Linked DNA regions of Homo sapiens: region 2 is linked to region 1. Evidence: promoter capture Hi-C in 16 types of primary human blood cells and fetal thymus (Javierre and others, 2016). All regions are on one chromosome and are shown on one strand. The core of a region is centred on a gene start or on the middle of the fragment in contact, and the rest is flanking DNA. Distances in the headings are between cores, read along the strand shown.

Evidence for each region. Contacts are between HindIII fragments. The CHiCAGO score rates a contact against its expected background, and 5 or more counts as called.
Region 2: a contact is called between the fragment with the promoter of TARBP2 here and the fragment with the promoter of DDX23 in region 1, in 2 of 17 cell types (monocytes and total CD8 T cells). The highest score is 6.9, in monocytes.

Annotation. Positions count from the first base shown.
Region 1 is chr12:48,850,443-48,854,736 of GRCh38, forward strand. DDX23 (DEAD-box helicase 23) reads right to left here and starts at 1,721. Exons shown (of 17, transcript NM_004818.3): 1 at 1,642-1,721. LOC105369755 (a long non-coding RNA gene) reads left to right here and starts at 1,279. Exons shown (of 2, transcript XR_944925.3): 1 at 1,279-1,372; 2 at 1,608-2,107. RefSeq lists enhancers at 1,577-1,766, 2,646-2,855. The HindIII fragment of the contact is 5,632 bases long and covers 1-3,534 here.
Region 2 is chr12:53,498,734-53,503,027 of GRCh38, forward strand. It overlaps TARBP2 (TARBP2 subunit of RISC loading complex), which reads left to right and starts at 2,550. Exons shown (of 9, transcript NM_134323.2): 1 at 2,550-2,728; 2 at 3,282-3,451; 3 at 4,294. The coding sequence starts at 2,676. MAP3K12 (mitogen-activated protein kinase kinase kinase 12) reads right to left here and starts at 725. Exons shown (of 14, transcript NM_001193511.2): 1 at 694-725. RefSeq lists a silencer at 842-1,091 and an enhancer at 2,185-2,484. The HindIII fragment of the contact is 9,076 bases long and covers 2,164-4,294 here.

The DNA of each region.
Region 1 (4,294 bases), core at 471-2,970:
AGAAGGCAAAGAGAAATGCAAATCTGAACTTAGGGGAGAGGGTCTGTAGACAAAAACTTGAGTCACCAATACACAGATAGCTTTTAAAGCCATGGGACACTAAATGATATTACCTAAGTAGGCAGCATAGTGAAAGAAAAAAAATAGAGAAGAAGCTCCAGAATTGAGCTCTGGAACACTTTAACAGGAGTTAGCCACGGGATGAACCAGAGAAAAAGACTGAAAAGAACTAGCAGCCAGTGAGAAAAGACAAAGAAAAGCATGGCAACGAAGAAGCCAAAAACATGTTTCAAGGAGGGAGGGGTCAACTGTGTCAAGTACCACCGAAGTGGAGAGGGAATAAGGGACAGGGAAGTAACCACTGAATTTGGAAAAATGGAGATTATTGGTGACCTTGACAAGAGCTGTTTCAGTTGCATTGCGGGAATGGAAGCCTGAGTGGAATGAGTTTGGAAGAGAATGAAAAATGAGAAGAAGACAGTAAATACAGGCAACTTTTATTACAGGTTCTATTATCACAAGGGCCAAATAACCAGGCTGACTCTGGCCATGCTTCCCAGCAGCCTTCCTCTCAAACCTCCAGATCTTCAGGTCCTCAGTTCTTGCAGGGCAGGGGCACATTCTTTTTTTTCACTCAATGACGTATTTAACAAGCATCTACTGTACGCAAGGCACAGTGCTAGGTGCTATGTGAGTTACAAAAATAAATTCTGTTCACAGGAAGTGTTTAGAACAACAGGGTTATGAGGTCGGACGCGGTGGCTCACGCATGTAATCCTAACACTTTAAGAGGCCGAGACAGGTGGATTGCCTGAGCTCAGGAGTTCGAGACCAGCCTGGGGAACACGGTGAAACCCCGTCTCTACTAAAAATACAAAAAATTAGCCGGGCGTGGCGGCGTGCGCCTGTAATCACAGCTACTCGGGAGGCTGAGACAGGAGAATCGCTTGAACCCGGGAGGCGGAGGTTGCAGAGAACCAAGATCGTGCCATTGCACTCCAGCCTAGGCGACAGAGCGAGACTCCGTCTCAAAAAAAAAAAGAAAAGAAAAGAAAAAAAAGAACAATAGGGGGTATGAGACACATACCAAGAAGAGTATCAAGGCTCAGATGTAGTAATACAGGTGTTCAAAGGCGTTTCCTTTCACTTGTAAAAGGTGATGTGGAAGGCTTGGAAGAGGAAGTGACGCTTGAGCTTTTAAGTATAAGTAGAATTTTAAGATATGTAATTAAGGACGCGGAAAAGAAGTCATTCCCGGCAAAAGAAATAATACGGCCGGCGCAGAGGCGGGAAAACATGGACTGACTGCGAGAGAAAAGCCAGAGTTCCAGTTTGGCTGCACCAAAGGCTACTTTAAGCATGAAAGAATAAGGTCAGACTGGGGGTATCAGAGGCGCTGTGCCCATAGGCAGAGTCCTGGGAGGAAAATATCGTGCAGGGACGTGGCCTGTGCCCGGAGGAGCCAACACTACCCCTGGGGCCCGCGCCCCTTCACTCCAGCCCGCCCGAGCTTCCCGGGTTCATGCCCCTTCTCTGAGGCGTTCTTTCCCGCCTCATCCAGGAGGCAGGGGCCACCGCCGTGCCCTGACTCTAGCCCTTTCTGTAAGCTCGTGGGAACCGCCTCCACCGCCCGGGACTCACCACCCTGAGTCTGAACCGCCCAACGCGGCCTCAACGTCGCGGAGCCGTCGCCATCTTTCCCGTTTCCTGGTCGCGGAGATGAACACCCCCCACCCCCCCGGCCGCGAGGCAAGCTGGGAAGGCGAGTTCCTGGAGCTGGGCGGCACAGGCCGACACTGAGGCCTGGAAACTACCAATCCCAGAATGCATGACTTGAGCGCCGGCCCCAGGCTGCGGGGTCTGCCGGGCAATGTGGTTTGCCAGACGTTAGCGTCCGGGAAGGAAGAGTTTTTCGCCAATAGGCTTTCGGCATTAGGTTCTCCCGCCGAGCACCCTTCTTGGAATCGGCTGGTCTTCCTAGAAACTACGGTCTATGACTGTCCTTGCCCGTGGCTTACAGTGGAGGAATTTAAGGGCTTCCTGAGATATCTGTAGTACGTAATTATAGCTAACAACCGCAGTAACAATAAATACCATTCGTGGAAAAGCGGTTTTTATAATAATTCTGTGAGAATGGGGCTAGCCCCATTTTACAGTTGGACAAACTAAAGATCAGGTTACCGGAGTAGGTTCACAAGGAGGGTGATGCAGTTCTCCATTGTGTGTGGAACTATCCCAGGCTTAGGAGGACGTTTTAGCAACCTTGGCCCCTGCAGCCGGGTGAATGCCATAACAACCCCCAGTTATTGTTACAGCTCCAAATGAGCCCACACAATGGGCTCTAAAGTCCTCCCGGAAGGATGGTATCTCCTGGGCTCTAGCACCTGTTTTCTCAACATTCCAGATGGAACCCTGGTTTCCTCAATTTCTTGCCCTTTGGAATGTGACCAATTGTTGAGCTATCTTGGTATTTTTGCTTCTTTCTTCCCCCAGATTCCCCTACTTCAGTCTTCCACTGAGTTTTGTTGTTGCTGTTGTTGTTGTTGTTGATGTTGTTGTTGTTGTTTTAACCTCAAATCGTAAGTTCACTTTGTGTTTCTCTTTGGTCTTATGGGTTCATAACTCTTTCCCTCAAAACAAAACAAAACATTGCAGTTGCGGAAACGGTTTAGATAACCAGAAGTATCTCGGACCTCCCTTCCCATTTTGCCAGCAGCAGGTTTGTTGCTTCAATTCCACATGGCTGTAGGTCTGCCTTTTCTCTCTGAATATGCCCAAGCTCTCAAGCAGAGCCTCAGGATAGACCCAAGTAATCCTAAAGCCCTGAGCATCACGTACAATGGCCCAAAGTAACCCTCGGAGACACACACTTCTCTTAGAACCTGCAGCCTTTCACCTCCCAGCTTCTACTCCAGAGAGAACGCAAGGGAAAGAAGAGAGCTCTGAGATCTGTTAGGTGTAATTCACCACAAAAGCACGAGAGGGCGCTCGACTCACAGATTCACAGATTAAACTAAGAATCAGACCAACCATGGTAGGCCAGAATCTTCAAAAACTGCAGCCACTTTTTATTGAGAATCTTCTAAGTGCTCAGCTCTGGGCTGGACACTTAACCTACCTTATTTGTTTTACTTAGTTCTCATAGCAGTATGAGATGAGTGCTATCTCCATTTTACTGGTAAGGAGATTGTGGCCCAGAAAGAGTAATTATGCCTTCAAAGGCCACATAGTTAAAAGAATGGGCCAGGTGAGGTGGCTCATGCTTGTATCTCAGCACTTTGGGAGGCCAAGACAGGAGGACTGCTTGAGCCCAGGAGGTCGAGGTCGCAGTGAGCCATGCTCGTGCCACTGCACTACAGCCTGGGTGACAGAGCAAAACCCTGACTGGAAAAAAAAAAAAAAGAAAGAAAGAAAAAAGAAAAGAAAAGAATGGAGCCAAAATTCAGGTTCATTTAACTTCAGAGTCCATTACCTTTCCCCATTTTCAGGCTGCCATCTCAACTCTCTTTAAATTGAGCTCCTGGAGGGTGATAAAGCTTGTCCCAGTTCATAGTGGCAGAGTTCCTCTAGTACTTGTGCGCACATCTCATGACACATGTAAGACATTGGGCTTCAAGGATACTTGTTATTTGTCTTGCCCCACTAGTTCTCTCACAAACATGAATCTTTGTTTTCTTATTTGTTTGTATTTTTATTTTATTTTATTTATTTATTTATTTTTGAGATGGAGTCTCGCTCTGTCGCCAAGCTGGAGTGCAGTGGTGCAATCTCGGCTCACTGCAATCTCCACCTCCCTGGTTCAAGCGATTCTCCTGCTTCAACCTCCCAAGTAGCTGGGATTACAGGCACATGCCACCACACCCAGCTAATTTTTGTATTTTCAGTAGGAACGGGGTTTCATCATGTTGGCCAGGATGGTCTCGATCTCCTGACCTCGTGATCCACCTGCCTCGGCCTCCCAAAGTGCTGGGATTACAGGCGTGAGACTCCACACCTGGCTTATTTACTTATTTATTTTTGAGACCGGGTTTCACTTTGTTGCCCAGGTTGAAGTGGAGTGGCACAAACAGCTCACTGCAGCCCTGACCTGGGCTCAAGTGATCCTCCTGCCTCAGCCTCCCAAGTAGCTGGGACCACAGGTGCACCCCATCATGCCTGGCTAATCGTTTTACTTTCTGTAGAGACAGGGTCTTGCAATGTTGTCCAGTTTGGTCTCAAACTCCTGGCCTCAAGCAATCCGCCCGGCTCGTCCTCCCAAAGTGCTAGAACTACAGGCACCAGTCACCACACCTAA
Region 2 (4,294 bases), core at 1,300-3,799, 4.6 Mb after region 1:
CACACGTGAATGGGGGAGGGGAGGATGCAACAGCTGGATGGAGGTGAATGCCACAGCTGGAGGTGAATGCCACAGCTGGAGGGGATTAGGAGGATCACAGCTTGAAGGGGAGGGGGACCAACGCCTGGGCATGCAGGAACAGGTGCTCTCTGACTAATCTTCAGGTCCAGCCTGCTGTGTGTGTGTGTGTGTGTGTGTGTGTGTGTGTGTGTGTGTGTGTGTGTGTGTGTGTGTGTGTGTGTGTGTGTGTGTGTGTGTGTGTGTGTGTGTGGAGATGGTGGGTATATCAGTCCTTGCCCTTCCTTTCCTTCCCTAGAGGGGGCCAAAACTCTCCCTCCTCCTTCCCTCTCTCTCTTCCTGAGGATGAGTGGGAGGAGATGTTCTCTTGCCCTCTGTCCTTTAAGTCTGTCCCCCAATCATCCTCCACCCCACCCCAATACGGTCCTTTCCAGCTCTGGAGGCCCTTCGTCTCCAAGCTGGGCCGCGGCATCCCTCCGCTCCATTCCCTTCCTTCCCAGCCCCACAGGCGTCGGGTCCAGGTCCCCAGTTCCTCCATCCCCACAGCCTCAGCATCCCCACGCCATCACCCCGCACCAGGCCACATCTGCATCCCGACCCTCCCTCCACGCCCGGATCCCAGGACCCAGACCCATCCCTGCCCCCCACCCCCCCACAACTCGGCCAGGCTCTCACCTCGGGGGCTCCGCGGCCGCAGCACAAAAGGCGGCGCTGCTGCAGCTCCGCTCCGGATGCTGCTCCCGCCTCCTCCTCCTTCTCCTCCTCCTTCCCTCCTCCCCCCGCTGCCCTCCACCGGACCCGGGGCGCTGTCACAGGCGATGCTCGTGCGGTGTCCGGATGCACGGGTGTCAGCTTCAGCTTTCTGCCCCCACCCCCCGACCCCTAGCCCCGTCCCTGCTCGGCTTGAACTCCCGCTCCTTCCAGGGCCCCCGCCCCTGGCCCCCCGGGACGGACACGCCCTGAGCGGGGGATGCTGCGATGGAGCCGCCGGCCTCTTAAAGGAGCCCGCTGCTGCCATCCGGCGCGCTCCAGGCTCGTACCTGGCCCGCCTGGGCCCCGCGCCTCCCTGCTGGCGGTGTCCTATGGAGGTCCCACCTCAGGCCTCAGGCTGATTCCACAGGAACCCCCTATGACCCGTCTTATAGACTCCTTTCTACATCGGAGAGAGCAGCCCCTCAGTTGGGATCCCTAGCGCTCTGGCATTGCTCCCCCTATCATACCGATCTTGCCAGCTCTCCTTCCCTTGATTGTCACCACTCACTCCAATTTCACCCACTTGGAATTCACTCGGCTCTAGGCCCCATCCTCCTCCAGTGTTCCTGGATGACCCCTCATTATCATTTCAAGATTCCTCTGGACCTCCAACCCCGGCTCAGAGTAAGACATCTTTCTTGACCCCTTCTCAGAACACTCATTAGAACCTTTTTTTTTTTTAATGTGGTCTCTCCCTTTCTCTCTCCAAGGTCACAAGATTTCCCTCAGCCCAGTGGTTGTGCAACTTTGGGGGAGGAGGCAATGGGGCTCTAGGACTAAACAATGCGCGTCTGCTCAACACCCAGATCAGTTGATTAATCTTAGGCGGCCAAAATTCACTTTTGCTCTCTTCAGCTGAGAGACCCAAGACTCATGGAAGAGGGAACAAGACCACCAAGGTGCCTAGTCCTTCTAATCCTGTCGTCCCACATTACAGCCTGATTATCAGGCCCCAGAGGTTTCCTCGCCAGTTAAAGAGAGGTTCACTAGAGCGGTTCTAAAAAGGTTTCACAAAAGAAGCAACACCTGAAGGGAGGTGAAGGACGACCTAGGAAAAGGAAGCAAGTTCTGTGTCACGGAGGCCCAAGGGCAAGGGGCTTAGGCTGTGGGTTGAGGGGACTGTCTGAGACGGACTTAAACCTGCACCAGCTCCAGAGCCCTGCGGAAACAGAGATCGGTCCCCTCCGGCGTCTAGGTAAGGCCCACCCTCCCAGACCGCAAAGAGCCAGGATCCGACGGCAGCCTCTCCGGACCAATCACAACCTTCCTTCATCAAGGAGGCGGGGTCGGGGGGGGCTGACTTTTCCTTGTCTCCGCCCCTTTAGTCGAAGTAACCAATCTCAGTGCACCTAGGGGAAGTAATCGCAATGGGAGTAACCAATGACGCCATGAAGCTTCTCGTGCGTGCTTGACCCTGCCTCTCCAGCTGCGACACAGATGGCGCGCGGGCTCTTGGGTTCTGTAGTTTTCTCGCGATCCAAAAGGCTCCGTGCCCAAGTGAGTCCTTACCGCCTCCCTACCCAGCGGCTTCCCCTCCGCTAGTACGCATGTCCACAGCTTCACGGACCGGGAGAGAGGGGGCGCGGAAGGAAGGAGGCGGGACGGTATTACAAACAAAAAAATACGGCCTTCTCGAGAAGCGACGGCGGAGGGCCCGCTCCTCCCAGAAGGCGGTGCAGCCTGCCCGGGCGAGCCACGCACGCAGAGGGTTGTGGGGCGGATAGCTCCCCTCCAGATGGAGGCTCACGAAGTAGGGTGGGCGGGGGACTCCATATCCCAGCGTGCCCCGCGGCGGGCCCTACCGGCCGCGACTCCGGGCTTGGCCCCGGCCCTAGCTCGTCGGCTGTGTATTGGGGCGCGTGGAGGCTGCAGTCACGGTGGCGCCCGCGGGGACGGAGGAGGGAATGAGTGAAGAGGAGCAAGGCTCCGGCACTACCACGGGCTGCGGGCTGCCTAGGTGAGCCGTCTCGTACCGATTCCTTCAGGGCGAAAAGCGTGGGGCCGTGCGGAGGGAGTAGCGGCGCGGCCCCAGCATGCACCTGGCCTGAGGGTTGTTCCCGGCAAGCACTGGGGCAGTGGGCAGTGGTTCCCGGCGTGCACCGGGGCAGTGGCTGCTGCCTCCAGCTCTAAATAGTTTGGGGTTGGCCCGGTTCCCAGACTGCACTGGAACACTGGGCTTTATGCCCCCACATTCAGTGCATTTGGTGGGTACTGGGTTCCTGGCTTGCACTGTGTCAGGGGGTATGCACTTTCAACCTGCATTGGGGCACAGGATCGTGCCCACCTTAACTGAGGCAGGAGCAATGCATTCTTCCCCCCTTGCTTTGGGGTAGTGGGCCCTACTTTTCCAGCCTGCACCTCCACTTGGAACCCAGCCAATGGATGCTAGACTGTCTGGGGTTCCTTGGACCCTATGTCCCCCATAATGTGCCTAGGTCTGGTATGGAAGTGCTTGGCTAGGTGGGTGCAGAGAGGGGAGGTGTGATGTGGGTCTGTGCCCCTTCCCCCAGTATAGAGCAAATGCTGGCCGCCAACCCAGGCAAGACCCCGATCAGCCTTCTGCAGGAGTATGGGACCAGAATAGGGAAGACGCCTGTGTACGACCTTCTCAAAGCCGAGGGCCAAGCCCACCAGCCTAATTTCACCTTCCGGGTCACCGTTGGCGACACCAGCTGCACTGGTGAGGAAGGCTTGGGCAGCCTGGCTGGGGTGTGCATTTGCAGGTCCCCATGGCTTTGTTTCTTGGAGTCTCTCTCTTCACAGTCCTTTTCTCCAAGGCCAGTGAGGGAAGGAGAGATTTCAGGGGAAAAGCTACTGACTGGATTGGGAGAACAGGGCTGTAAGAAGGTGGGTAGGACGTGGGAGAGTTAGAGGAGCGAGCAGGACTCCCACAGTGATCTGGCAGATCCCCATCACCCTAGAGGAAAAGTAAGAGAAGATAACTGAAATCCCAGTGGAGTATTTGGGGGAGTGAGTGCCTGGCGTGCTGGGCTCTGTTCCCGGTGCTTAACCAAATTCCCGTTTAATTTTAAACCTCAGTCTAACCAATGATTGTAGGTGGTAGTATCCGCCCCCCCGACTCCTCCCCCCGCCCGCCCATGTTGAATATGAGGAAACTGAGTGTTTGAGATAGTAAATGGCTGGTGCATGGTCACATGCCTAGTATGTGGCAGAGTGGGGCTTTTACTCCAGAGCCTACCCTCTCTTATTCCAGCTCTCTGTATTTATTGAGGGAAAAGAAAGTGCTTTGCAAAGGAAATTAAAGCATTTGCGCTCAGAAGTCCACCCAAGGCGTTTGAGCTCAGAAGTCCTGCTTGGCATGGCTTAATTCTGGAAGCTAACGGAAAGATAAGGGCTCTTCCTTCCAGCAATTAGTGAAACACTTCCAGTCTTCAGCAGGGGGAGGTTGGTCAGAAGGGGCTTGATTGATTCCCTCTGGCTACGAGGAGAGAGGCTGTGGGATGCTGGTTTCTTTCCCGTCCTTTCAGTGACCTCCAGTATTGCCCATGCCCCCTCTCTCAGG